5 separate regions of the Homo sapiens genome follow, and all the other regions are linked to region 1. The links are contacts of gene promoters, found by promoter capture Hi-C in human tissues and cell types (Jung and others, 2019). All regions are on one chromosome and are shown on one strand. Each heading gives the region's core, a stretch centred on a gene start or on the middle of the fragment in contact. The rest is flanking DNA. Distances are from core to core; before and after follow the strand shown. Region 1 holds the start of SMIM2 (small integral membrane protein 2). Region 2 has its middle 22 kb from the start of NRAD1. Region 3 has its middle 78 kb from the start of MIR8079. Region 4 has its middle 27 kb from the start of SMIM2-AS1. Region 5 has its middle 43 kb from the start of MIR8079.

The links. Contacts are between HindIII fragments. The study calls those that stand out against the background at their distance.
Region 2: a contact is called between a fragment that was not itself captured here and the fragment with the promoter of SMIM2 in region 1, in 2 of the 25 tissues and cell types used here (bladder and dorsolateral prefrontal cortex).
Region 3: a contact is called between a fragment that was not itself captured here and the fragment with the promoter of SMIM2 in region 1, in 2 of the 25 tissues and cell types used here (aorta and hippocampus).
Region 4: a contact is called between a fragment that was not itself captured here and the fragment with the promoter of SMIM2 in region 1, in 2 of the 25 tissues and cell types used here (IMR-90 fibroblasts and aorta).
Region 5: a fragment that was not itself captured here is called in contact with the fragment with the promoter of SMIM2 in region 1 in 4 of the 25 tissues and cell types used here (aorta, dorsolateral prefrontal cortex, hippocampus and 1 more).

What each region holds. Positions count from the first base shown.
Region 1 is chr13:44,159,880-44,162,578 of GRCh38, forward strand. It overlaps SMIM2 (small integral membrane protein 2), which reads right to left and starts at 1,378. Exons shown (of 3, transcript NR_197392.1): 1 at 1,266-1,378; 2 at 724-1,052. RefSeq lists an enhancer at 1-509. The HindIII fragment of the contact is 7,742 bases long and covers 1-2,699 here.
Region 2 is chr13:44,043,154-44,045,852 of GRCh38, forward strand. No RefSeq gene overlaps it. Among named protein-coding and RNA genes, the nearest start is that of NRAD1, 22 kb to the left of the region's middle. The HindIII fragment of the contact is 3,892 bases long and covers 1-2,699 here.
Region 3 is chr13:44,272,888-44,275,586 of GRCh38, forward strand. No RefSeq gene overlaps it. Among named protein-coding and RNA genes, the nearest start is that of MIR8079, 78 kb to the left of the region's middle. RefSeq lists an enhancer at 1,575-1,754. The HindIII fragment of the contact is 5,200 bases long and covers 1-2,699 here.
Region 4 is chr13:44,082,386-44,085,084 of GRCh38, forward strand. No RefSeq gene overlaps it. Among named protein-coding and RNA genes, the nearest start is that of SMIM2-AS1, 27 kb to the right of the region's middle. The HindIII fragment of the contact is 6,764 bases long and covers 1-2,699 here.
Region 5 is chr13:44,237,480-44,240,178 of GRCh38, forward strand. No RefSeq gene overlaps it. Among named protein-coding and RNA genes, the nearest start is that of MIR8079, 43 kb to the left of the region's middle. The HindIII fragment of the contact is 4,630 bases long and covers 1-2,699 here.

The DNA of each region.
Region 1 (2,699 bases), core at 128-2,627:
CTCATTCCTCATCATGCCACTTGGAAGGAGAGCAAAAGGTGGGGAAAGAGGAAGGGCCAACATCATCATCTGCATTTTATGTGGGGAAACTGAGGCTCACATAAGCCGTAAAGTGAAATGTATAGACATTTATGAGTCAGAAATCGACCATGGAAGAGGCAAAATGAGCTTATCTGAATCATGAGTGGACTATTTCTTGCCCAACAATTTCATGCAGCTCTTCCAACACAACTGTTTTGATACAGCAGCCTCAAAACAAGCCAAAATTCAGACTCGCTGTATTTGGTTTATAACCAGTTTCCCATCTTTCATTCCTTCTCTGACTTCTACCTGACTTCTGAATTTGGTTGACCCTGTTTTTTTGTTTGTTTGTTTGTTTTGTTTTACTTTAAAAGACCCTCAACCCTCCTGGAGTCCTGACCTGCTATTTCTTTCATTTTGAACCTCTACCAGTCCTTTCCTTCATCTGTTACCAATCCATACACCCTTGATGCCTGGAGGTAAGATTGACAATGGAGGGGGGGAGGTGAAGATCAAGGTTGAGGTGAAGCTCACAGATGGCCTGCAAGATGCCTATTTTACTCATCATTTATTTTTTAAAAAGCTGAACATTTATCGGCTGAATCTTTGAGCCATACCAAAATATCCTCATGTCAAAATAGCTGCAGTAAAGTGGTTCTATTAAAATAGCTGCCTCCAAAGAACTGAGAGTGGAGATGTCACCTGCTTCTGGCACCTGACTTTGGTCCTCTTCTGCGTGGCATTGCCTTCTGCTCTGCTGGATTCTGGCGTATGGCTCATCAGAGGAGGCACTAACATCAGGGCTGCCTTTTATCTTGCTGATCCAAGCGAGGACTATGTAGGTGTCACAGATGAAACTCGTCCAGAAGCCGAACAGGATGCTAATGGCATGGCCACGTGTTTCCAGCACCCTGTGAGGCAGCTGGCTGGCATCAATCCTCTCCCCAGCTTCCATCCCACCCCCATCCACCCATAAGCTCTTCTTGGGTCAGAAATGCAATTCTTTGATGGTGCCAGACAGCCAGATGATGCTGGAAAGAAGAAAGAAAAAGAAAAAGCAGGTTTCTAAATTAAGCACAAGGCTCGTTTATAAAAATAAATAGCCACAGCCTAGCAACGTGCTCACAGCTCAGCTTTCCTCCGTAATAAAACCTCTGTGGCTGAAGCCTGGGATGACACAGCCTTCAGAGGGCCCCACGCCCTGGCCCTCCTCATGCCCTGGCCTCTCCCAGGATAATACTCACCTGGAGAGTGCTGACAGTGGTACTTTTGGGGCCCCACTCTTCATTCAAGGCCAACCAAAGGCCAGGCTCCAAAAAGCAGAAGGAAGGCAGAGCTTAATGAGGCCCATGAACACTTACAGACTCTTGGCAGTAACTAATACACCTGTAGCAAAAGTGGTTGAAGTTCCTTGGGCTACTCTGTTGAAATAGGAACTTCTAGTTAAGACCATGTCTTCTTTGTTCACCATTGAACAGTACTCAGCTAAGCACAGGGCACGTATTGAGTACTCAACCAGTATGTGAGGAAAGACTGGTTAGAGGTATAAATGAATGAATGAATGTTGCCATCCCATTATTGATGCTCTCCAAACTCTTCACTACAAATGGAGTCAGTTCCAGAATCCAAAGCCAGCATTCTTCTCCTGATTATGACATGCACCAAAGAGGCATCCCCTGAGCTGGATGTTTAAATCAGAGCCCACAGCTGAAGTGAGCACCAAGATGTACTGAGCAAGTGTGGACTCTTACTGATCCAAGTGGTGAGGCTCTTACAATGGGCAAGGGCAGAGGGCATGCGATATGTAGGTAACTATTGTTAGCATTCCTGAATCTTCTCCTGTTCTTTAGGCAGCAGCAGCTTCAAGGGTGAACTGTTGCTCAGCAGAGAAATGGCAGGAAAAAATAGGACATTCGCTTCTGGCCTTAGTCCTGTTGGAACACAAAAAGTGGAGTCTGCAATGCTGTTGGAGGCTCAACAGGTCAAATACATCAGTAATGGGCATGGTATGGCTGGGGTCATACGGAGACAGTCCTTAGAGCACTGAAAATGTGATCATCCTGAATCCCATAAGGATCCTTATGAGGTTAGAAGGGACAATGTGGCTCCACTTTGATGACTGACAGCAGTTGCTTTGGTGAGTTTCTACGTATTCCCTTGTGATCAGAGAGTGGTACAGGACAGCATGTCAAAATCGTAAACCACCATCTCAGAGCAAGGCCCCTTAGTTACAATATTAAAAAGATCAGAGAAATTGGCACATAGCATCATTTAGAAATCTGTCTTCAGGCATCTTTGTCTGGCCTGGCTGGAAATAGTAAAACCATATTTATGTCATTGAGAAAAAGGTTCTTAATTAAATTCAAATGTATAAGAATATATCGTAGGTCTATTTTTGGAACAATAATCTGGGAACAAAAAAAAATCTAAACAGCAACAAAACTTGTACAATAGCATTTAGCTTCAGACAGCAGCATACAATAGAGAAGAAGGAGTCCTCATAGACTCTGGACTCTTAGATTGATTCAATCCCACAAGCTAGAGCACCAAAGTCATGGCACTGGGACATTTAGGAAGAGGAACTCTAGCAGTGACCTGATTAGGAGACAGCTCCAGCAGAGAGTCAGCACATAGACTGGCCAAGCTGCCCCCAGATCTTTGGTGATATCTCTTTGGTG
Region 2 (2,699 bases), core at 68-2,567, 120 kb before region 1:
AGCTGAAGGAGGGGGTTTAGCACAATAATTTATGATTAAATGCCATCTTTTAATCCAGCTGTGGGGAGTTGCCTGTAAAACTGCCCTTTTCACTCTAAAATTCTCTCTAATCATTTGTATACTCACTGATTTACATAGCTGGAAGATTTGCCTCCTGAAATAGGAGCCTTTTTTTTTTTTTTTTTTTTTTTTGGAGACGGAGTCAGGCTGGAGTGCAATGGCGTGATCTCAGCTCACTGCAACCTCCACTTTCTAGATTCAAGTGATTCTCCTGCCTCAGCCTCCCTAGTAGCTGGGAAGACAGGCACACACCACCACACCCAGCTAATTTTTTTGTATTTTTAGTAGAGACAGGGTTTCACCATGTTGGCCAGGATGGCCTCGATCTCTTGATTTCGCGATCTGCCCGCCTCGGCCTTGGACTTCTTAAATTGCAATCATTTTAAAGGGATGTTTGACACATCATGTAGCGGCAATCCTTTTAGCTAGAGGTAACTGCTGATATAAAACTATCAAAACTCATATGCACCTCTGTTCTGTTAAGTGTTGACATACTGGACACTGTGTATCTATAGTATAGCCTCATTTTCCAAATCTAATCTAGCCTAAACAGTTTGGTGGGGCAAGAAAAGCAAGTTGTAAAATAATCTCTTTGTCATAACCCTCAAGTCATATCTTCTGGACTTGAAAGGTATGCTGGATGTCCTATGTGTTGGTGCCTCATGCTGCTCAGCAGGAAATCTGAACTGTTCTCACCTCTCTGGTCCTTCTGTCTCACCAGGAGATACACCCAAGAACATTCTCCACATTGTCTTAATTCCCCTGCCTTCTGCCTTGGGTCACTCAACCCAAATAGAAGAGACTGCACTGTTCATATTAGGGATGCCTTAATCCTATAGTTCAAAGATTGAAATTTGACACAAAAATCTACTTTTTCTAGCTCTAACAGTTCTGGTGAATATTAAAAGGAGGAAGTCTTTTGTTAAAAAAAAAATAGCCTTCAATTCAGTAGCATCGTCTTTATAAGCAGAGGATGCACAATCACCCACTTGCTGGTCACAGCTCTGCTTTAGGTCATCTGAAGTCGATTACTGCATCCTTGGAGGATGGTGTGAAATGCCAGTGAAATCGTGAGCTAATTCAATGACATGCCCATTGTTCCACTCATTTAGGCAAACGCTTTTTCTGAACAGGGAAGATTCTCGCATATTCCTTACATACTAAATTAACTCAAAAAACTTAAGAATGATACCCCACTGCTGCTTGTCTCTAGTTTTCAGCTTTCATCCTGGCGGGCAAGACCCTCAGCATCTTCTCAGTCATAAAGTACTTGTGAGCATTCAGAAAGGCCTAAGTTAACTATCGTCGGGTTACACAGGTTTGGAAGCTTGAGCACATTCTACGGCATTTGTGGTATGGCCTCTGTAGATTTGATATCCTTAATCATAGATAGCAGATGGAGCTGTGAGACAATGACCTTCCAGGGTCCCTTCCCCAAATAGACTTAATGCTACTACACTTCAAAAGCAATCACTGTCCATCCGCTCCAGGTCACCGTGCAGTACTGGCCAGGGGCCCGGGCTACCAGAAAGACACTAGCTAGAGTTGAATGCTTAATCTCCCTGCTCCCAAGTACAGACAAGAGGAGAGAGAGAGGCTCATGGCTTTCTAGAGTTTTATGTGCTTAAGCGCTGATAGGAGCTACCTTTTGCTGCATGTTGGTCACTCTGGAATATAAGACACCTGGGACAGCAGCTAATGTGGCTAAGGAACAGTCAGGCCAGATTTGTTGTTATTTATTTAGCAGAACACAGAATCCAAGAATCCTCATGAATGCCACTCAAAAGCATGACTCAGGCAAAGGGAACAGACAATAAAAGGAATGACTTCACATTTCACAGCAAGAATTCTCTGGCCTCGGAGAACACTAGATACCTCTGGACCACACATCCCTTTGGCAAAATACTTTTCTCATCTACAGATCACTGCATGGCTTGGTTTACCTGAAGCCTCTTATGGTTTCTCCACCTAATAACCCTCATGATATTTTTCTAGAAAAGCAGCATAGATGGAGATGGAATGTAACACCTGAAATAAAAGGATTTTGCAGGAAATAATGTAAATCAAGCCTTTTGCCCTTAATGACCCATAATAAAATGCTCTTGCTACCAAGCTCTGCAGGCAACCCAGTGCAGGTTGCCATGGAAATGCCCAGCTGCTCCTCTGCGCAGTTGCTTAATGATCAGTGTGATGCCAGGCTCTTGAGAGAAGCACAGGCTCAGACAACTCTTTACAGCCACAGGGACAGTCCACTCAGGACTGCAGTTACGTCTGAGTCGGAGCCCCTGTGTCCAGGTATAATTAAAATGCACTCAGACCTATGACTGGAAATGCTTTCAGCAGAAAATTAGGTCACCTTTTTAATTTCTCCATTCATTTTCATTTCTCCACATGACTGCCCAGTCAGAAGCAAGACAGAAACAGGGCGGCCATGGCACGTTGCTGCAGATGCCGCTTCACCAACCTGTGACCTGGCTCCCGCTCTACACAGGTGGGATATGCAGGTGCTCTGCCTTGACCCATGCCATAAAACGTCACCTTTTGGTCCCCTCTTCCCATGTTCCCTGCACCTACCTTTCACAGTGACTGGACCCGAAATTCTCACTATTACTCATTGCTTGATTTAGATAACAAAGGCA
Region 3 (2,699 bases), core at 124-2,623, 110 kb after region 1:
GCAACCTCACTGTGAGGAAGTCAGCCAGATATGAAACAGCAGGGAGTGATGGAATCATGGAAACCCTGTGCAGAGAGCCTCCTAGACCAAAACATTCAAATTCAAATCCAAATGCAGGCAAAGCCAGCCTGAGGTCCCGATTCATGCTCTGCTGGCCAGATCTAGAAGGATAGTGCTCTGCATTGCAAAAAGTACCTCTAGCCTGGAACAGGACCTGTCCTCTTTGATTTTTCTACATTTCACAGGTTTAAATTAAGTACACTCAAAGGTGTTATTTGTAGCAATATCCTAACTACATTGAACTACCATTTAACATGCTGTTTCTACGGGAAACATGTATTGCAAGTTCTAACTCTAAGTGCTAGGAGTGTCCCAGCATCCATCCCATCTTTGGTGATGACAGCATCCATGGAATCAACATCTGAGGTACAGAACGTCACTGGGGAGGCCAGGAGAAAGCTCCTGGGTGCAGATAGCTTGTGATGGCTCCATATCTCTGTATATATCTCAACACGACCCTCACACTCGATACTCCAGGCATGTCCACCTATCTACAGAGGGCCCGCCATCCTCATTTCTTCACCACTGCTGTGTGCCATGCTACATCCTCTGCCTCACCTTCACCCAGCTGCTTGTTTTTATCCTGTGGGCCACTTCTTTTCCTAACCTCTTCCCCGCTCTGTTGTCTGACACTCCAAAGCCACCAGAGCATGTTGTACTTTCCCCAGTGTGGTGCTTCTCCACACTGGATTGTGACTGTCATTTGTGGTCAGCATCTCCCCCAGACTGGTAGGAGGAGGAGAGGGTCGGACTCTTCACAGCAGTATCCCCAACACCTGACTGGTGTCACATGCTTCGTGGCCAGCATTGAATGAATGAGCAAATGTATTAACAAAAAATTGAAGGAATGAAGAGATAAAGCAACTTTTTGCGCTAAATCACTGGTATTCTCAAATGGGTCACATGACACACTGTCCTCTCAAGGGACAGAGACAAAGCTTGCATCTGAAACTCCCCATACCTGCACATTCATTGCTCAGTTAACCTTCACAATAACCAACATGAGGTATTTCTTTTACAACAATAAAAAAGTAAATTGATGACTAGAGATATTGAATAAATTGCCCAGCACCATAAAGCTAGTAAATGGCTGAACCCTGAACTCCAACCCAGCTCCCCTGACTGCAAAACCTGTGCTTTCCCACCACACCGGGCTGGCCAGGGGTTAGGAGCTCACTGATGCCTGATGGCAAACATACTCCTGCTGTCGCTGCTGCTGCTCCCACTCCTGACTTCAGTATTCCAGGCTCACACAGCCAAATCAGCTCTCAGAAGAAGTCAACCCCAGAGTAGATTCTGGGTCACAGCTGTTACAATCAGGAAGTTGGTCTTTAACCCCAGGTAGAAGCTTCACTTCACTAGGGTGGGATCTTTGAACACAGAGCATCCCTTCCATCTGCTGTCCCACACCTGCCTCCCTATGCCTATTCTCATCAACACATATTTAAAACCTTTGAAGGACAACCTCAAGCCACATGCAAAAAACTTCCTAATTATTAGGGAGCGAATTTGCAATATTTTAGTATATATAAGTAAGAGTGAATGAAAGAGACATAGAGGCCGAGGGAGAGGCAGAGAGAGAGGGAAACAGAAAGTGAAAGCAGAGGCAGAGTTATGCATAACAGGTTCTAAAATACACTATTTGGTAGGGGTGTAATGATGACGCACATTGCTAGAGAAAAGAACAAAATGGAGGAAGCTCTCTGGCGTCTATGTGCCTTATAAAATTATTAATTTAACCAATCCCTAAAGTCATGAAGTATTAAGTGACAAGTTGTCTAGCTACAATAGTATGAGTCAACTACTGCATATTCCACTCTATTTTAACATTGAAGCCTAAGATGATTTAGGCTAACAAAGTCATTTTCCAAACAAATCTAAAAATCAAATCTTCATACAAGAAAAGAGGGAGAAGCACCAGACTTTAACCCCAAATGGCAGCCAGTCTTTATGAGATTCTGTTACAGGGTCTGTAAAACTCTGAGCCAGCTGCATGGAAAGGACCCAGGACCACTCACACTGACTGATGTGGTCTTTGAAAATGTGCCAGCAAGGCTTACAGAGAAGGAAACCAGAGCTTTTCAGAACTCAGCTCCTCTGCACAGCGACACAGTGAGATGGACAAGGGCTGCTCTACTGAATTTGCAAATGTGAATTTAACCCACTTATGAAAACAGTACCGGGCATGGCTATATCACTTATCAGCTCATCAAGTTTGTTCTGGAGGGGAAGCAGTTTTGTGTGGCCCCACTATCAGGCACCAGCCTCATAAAGAAGCAAGCAGCACAAATCCTAAATTCTGTGGTGTTTAATGGAGGCCATGTCAACACAACAGCGGGAAAGAGAGGGACTCTCTACCAACCGGTATACTAAGACATAATCTAGAGGCCAAAGGACTCCAGATAAATTACCCATTGCCCAAAACAAAAGGAAGTCTTTTGATAAGAGAAATATTTACACCTGGGGAGTAAGCCATGGTCCCAGGAAGAAAATGTCTTAAAATGAACTTTGCATCTATTTAGTTTTGCATTTTCAGTCCCCAAATACCCCATCACTGTTTTCCTGTTTTCTTTTTCTCTCCCATGAGCTCACTATCCCTTTGCAAATTTAGGGGAAATAGGACTGCTGTTGACTCTGCA
Region 4 (2,699 bases), core at 112-2,611, 78 kb before region 1:
CTTTGCTATTGTGAATAGTGCTGCAATAAATATATATGTGCATGTGTCTTTATCATAGAATGATTTATAATCCTTTGGGTATATGCCTAGTAATGGGATTGCTGGGTCAAATGGTATTTCCAGTTCTAGATCCTTGAGGAATTGCCACACTGTCTTCCACAATGGTTGAACTAATTTACACTCCCACCAACAGCATAAAAGCATTCCTATTTTTCCACAACCTCTCCAGCATCTGTTGTTTCCTGACTTTTTAATGATTGCCATTCTAACTGGTGTGGGGTGGTATCTCATTGTGGTTTTGATTTGCATTTCTCTGATGGCCAGTGATGATGAGCATTTTTTCATGTGTCTGTTGGCTGCATAAATGTCTTCTTTTGAGAAGTGTCTGTTCATATCTTTTGCCCATTTTTTTGATGGGGTTGTTTTTTTCTTGTAAATTTGTTTAAGTTCTCTGTAGATTCTGGTTATTAGCCCTTTGTCAGATGGATAGATTGCAAAAATTTTCTCCCATTCTGTAGGTTGCCTCTTCACTCTGATGATAGTTTCTTTTGCTGTGCAGAAGCTCTTTGGTTTAATTAGATCCCATTTGTCAATTTTGGCTTTTGTTGCCATTGCTTTTGGTGTTTTAGACATGAAGTCCTTGCCCATGCCTATGTCCTGAATAGTATTGCCCAGCTTTTCTTCTAGGATTTTTATGGTCCTAGGTCTTACTTTTAAGTCTTTGATCCATCTTGAGTTGATTTTTGTAAAAGGTGTAAGGAAGGGGTCCAGTTTCAGTTTTCTGCATATGTTTTCCCAACACCGTTTATTAAATAGGGAGTCTTTTCCCCATTGCTTGTGTGTGTCAGGCTTGTCAAAGATCAGATGGCTGTAGATGTGTGGTGTTATTTCTGAGGGCTCCATTCTGTTCCATTGGTCTATATATCTGTTTTGGTACGAGTACCATGCTGTTTTGGTTACTATAGCCTTGCAGTAGAGTTTGAAGTCAGGTAGTGTGATGCCTCCAGCTTTGTTCTTCTTGTCCAGGATTGTCTTGGCTATGTGGACTCTTTTTTTGTTCCATATGAAATTTAAAGTACTTTTTTCCAATTCTGTGAGGAAAGTCAGTGGTAGCTTGATGGGGATAGCATTGAATGTATAAATTACTTTGGGCAGTATGGCCATTTTCACAACATTGATTCTTCCTATTGAAACTGAGTTTGAAAGAATTGCAGTTACATCAAGGACTCATACTAATTCTCACATCAGGTTAGAATCAGTAACAGGTTTACAACTATAAAAACAACGACAGCTCGAGGATTTTGTTCTTTAAAAATGAAAAATTAAGTAGACATTTGTAGATTTTACCTTTATTTGTTGGCTGAAGTTCTGTTTGGCATAAAATAATTACGGGCCACTCTGAATTATACTTACCTGTCCTATTATCTCATATTTAAGAAATGGCTGAACCACTGGGAAGATTAGGAGGGAGGAGGGGCACTCCTAGGACCTGAAGACTGCAAAGAATTTTCTGGGTCTCCAGAGTCCTTTATCCCCAGCATGGGATGTTCTTTCAAATATTTTGATTATTCACTTTTATCATTGAAAGTTATATGTATATTAATTTATTATTATATATTAAGAATGTATATAATGTGCATCTATTATGTTCAAGTACAATAATTTTAAAAGATGAAATATAGGTGAAATAAACAATACTTTAATAAATGCATATTTTCTTAATAAAATAGAACCCATGTGCTCTCACTATAAACATTATTATTGAATATACTTCTGTATCAGTTAGCCTTTACTATATAACAAAACACTCAAAAACGTAGTGACTGAAAACAACTTTCATTCACTTCCTCACAATTCTGTGAGGTGGCAGCTTGAGCTTTGCTTCTCTGGATGGTTCAAAGGCTGCTCACTTCCAGGCTCAGTCATGCGACTGCAGTCAGCTGGCATCTCAGCTGGAGTTGGATGGTCCAGGATGTTCTAAGTTGGAAATTGGCAGCCTGGATGTCTTGGTTTTCCTCCATGTGGCCTCTCTAGTGGGATAACTTGGGCTTTTTCACATGGTCACAGGGCTCCCAGCAGCAACAGAGGCAGGTCCAAATGTGTGTTTTTTTTTTTTTTTTTTTTTTTTTTTGAATTGTAGTCTCACTCTGCGGCCAGGTTGGACTACAGTGGGCAAACTTGGCTCACTGCAATCTCCACCTCCCAGGTTCAAGTAATTCCCCTGCCTCAGCCTCCCGAGTAGCTGGGATTACAGGCACACACCACCACACCAGGCTAATTTTTTGTATTTTAGTAGAGACAGGGTTTCACCATGTTGGCGAGGATGGTCTCTATCTCCTGACCTTGTGATCTGTCTGCATTAGCCTATAGATTTTATTTTTAGAGCATTTTTAGGTTTACAGAAAAAATTTAGCAGAAAAGCAAACTTCCCAAAATACCCCTTCTCTACCCACTTGCATCCTCCCCCAACAGTTTCCCCTATTAACATCTTGCACCAATACAGTACTTTTGCTACAGTTGGTGAACAAATATCAATACATTATTATTAACTAAAGTCCACAGTTTACATTAGGATTCACGCTGTGCTGTGCAGTTCTATAGGTTTTGCCAAATGCATGATGTCATGTATTCACCATTACAGTTTTATATACAATAGTTCCACTAAAATACCTTAAGTTCCACCTATCCATCCCTCTCTC
Region 5 (2,699 bases), core at 131-2,630, 78 kb after region 1:
TCAGAATCAAGAGTCACACTCCTTGGGATGATGACAGAGACAATGTGGGAACTACAGGGCTATGGCCTATGACGTCCAGGAAGGAAAACCAAGTGGTGTGTGGTGATTAGTCATTTCACAATGAGGGGATGGCTTCCTGGGGTGTTTTCAAGCTTTTGGGTGGCGGCACAGTCTGCAAGAGGGGGAAAGGCTCTGAGAACAAGATATGACTAAAGAATAGTTTCTCATTTACCATTTTTAAAAATAAAACAATGCACAGCCAATCACGTGTGAGCTGAAGGGTAGAGTCAAATGTTTAGGTATTTTCTGACCTTTCAGATCCATTCAGACTTTCTAAAAGCCACAGACATAAACACCATATCCAAATCTGGAAGCTTAAAAAGTTTGGACAAAATAGTATACATTTTGTTCAACACTTTATTGCAAAGGAAAAAAAAGGAAAGAAGTATACAAAGTTTTTCTTCACAAAACAAACACGAAAAACTAACTCTGCCAGGAAAAAATGTGAAACCCATAGACAGATCATGCTAAGGGTCTAAGGGGACAGCTTGCCTCCCCTACGGCATTACTGAAAAGCAGATGTGATGGGCAGCGTCACAGAGGCCTGTAATCCAGTTAGGTGCAGCAGCCACAGGCAGCCTACACTCTTCCTAAAAGCCTCCCTCTCAGGGAAACCCAGGGCCTCTTGGACTGTTCCAGGCTTTAAGTGCATATCAGAAAAACATTTGCCATATGTTTTAACTTAATTTCTAAGTCAGCGTGGGCCCATTCATTCTCATTCCTTCCATAACAGCCTTCCTGAGTAATTGCCTATTGACTTTGCTGCTTGCTGGTCATACCTGGGTGTGCATCTGTCTTACACCAGACACACCTAACTCTCAGCCTCTGTAGTCACAAATAAGGGTTCTATTTGTTGATTTAGAATGGCAAGTTGAAACTAGCACAGTCTTACACGTAGAAGATACTCAATCAGTATTTTGTTGATGGAGTCACATCTCTATCTCTCTCCTTATTCTTCTAGCTTACTTCCCCCACCCCTACTTTTATTTCTTTCTTCCCCCTCTTTTGTCAAAAGGTTGGGCTTACCAGCAAATCCACTGAATACTTGCTAACCCTCTGATTTACACCACACAAGTAGCACCAGTTTCACAAGACAGAAAAAAACTCACCTTGGGGCCCCAAGGTTGGCCTGGATCTTTGAAAGTGTAGGGTCATGATTTATTTTAGGCAAGTGGAGATCTAAAAAGGAGCAAAGATAACAGGACCCTGCAATTCACCAACTGGATCCTGTATATAAGAACCTTTGTGATTTCTCACCTTGCTAATTTCCTGCCCTCTCTTTCTGCAGGTTCTTCCCCAAACCATCATGGACCAGTTGGACTCTGAGAAGAAAAGTTTCTGATCTTTAGTTCATTCTTCCAACTCTCTAGAAAGCAGGAAAACTGAGAATGAAAAATTCTAAATTACTCAGGACTCATGGGTTGCCAATAGAAGAAATACATCTTAAACTAGCTTAAGCCTGAAAGGGAAATGTATTTGTTCATGTAACTGAACCATAACGAAGGATGGTGGACTGAGGGACCTGAAAACACCCTCAGGACTCCCTCCCTCTCCTTTGTGCTCCTGTCTGATGCCGTCTTCCCAGACCTGCTCACTCTCCATAAGGTGGGGATGTGGCCATCAGCAACGTGTACTTCCCCGAAGCTTGTGACCTGAGTAGATAGGCATCTCCCAACCCACAAGGATTGAAAAGTTCCTCTAGGAATTATGTGGATTGGCCCATTCACTATGACATGTTCCCCCTAAGCAGCTAAAGGAACTGGGTCTGTTACCAGAAGAGGTGGGAGAGGGGTGCTAGGCAGATTGAACAACAGCCACTACAACATCTGAGGAGGAGACCTCCGTGAAGGCCACCAAGTCTGCTAGCAGATATTTCCTCCCTCGGATCTCTCTCCCTGTCCTCACAGTCTCATAAGTGAGGATTAAATACTACATGTGGCCTAGGAGATCTTAGACCCTCCACACGAAGATATAGTAACAATCAACATCCTAGTGTTCTGGCAGAGAAAAAATCAGAAAGAATCGTTTGCCTGATTTTTCCATCAATACCAATAATTAATTAGAGATGAAATTTGTGATGGACTCAGAGAATTAGAGAAGATCTAAGGGAATCTAGATGATTTCCTACCCCTAACCAGAGCCTCACAAAAAAGGGTGAAGATCTATGGCCGTCTTGCGTTTGGTGTGAGGCTGGACAAGGAAGTTCCTAAGGTCCTTTAGACTCTGTGAGATCATGAGTCCGTAAAACCCTTCCAACTTGAAATTAGTTGATTCCTTCCTTAAATTTTCTGGGACATTCCCCCACTCCCTCCACTCTTATTAGCTGATTTTACTGACCAATAGGCCTTGAAGTTGGGCGTTCCATCTAGATGTCTCACATCAACTCACCTTTTGCAAATTAAGCCCATACCCTTAAAGAGGGGAATTCTCAAGCCATTAGAAACTAGAGAGTCAGCTGGGCATGGTGGCTCACGCCTGTAATCCCAGAACTTTGGGAGGCCAAGGTGGGTGGATCACTTGAGGTCAGGAGTTCGAGTCCAGCCTGACCAACATGGCGAAACCCCGTCTCTACTAAAAATACAAAAATTAGCCAGGGGTGATGGCATGCACCTGTAATCCCAGCTACTCAGGAGGCTGAG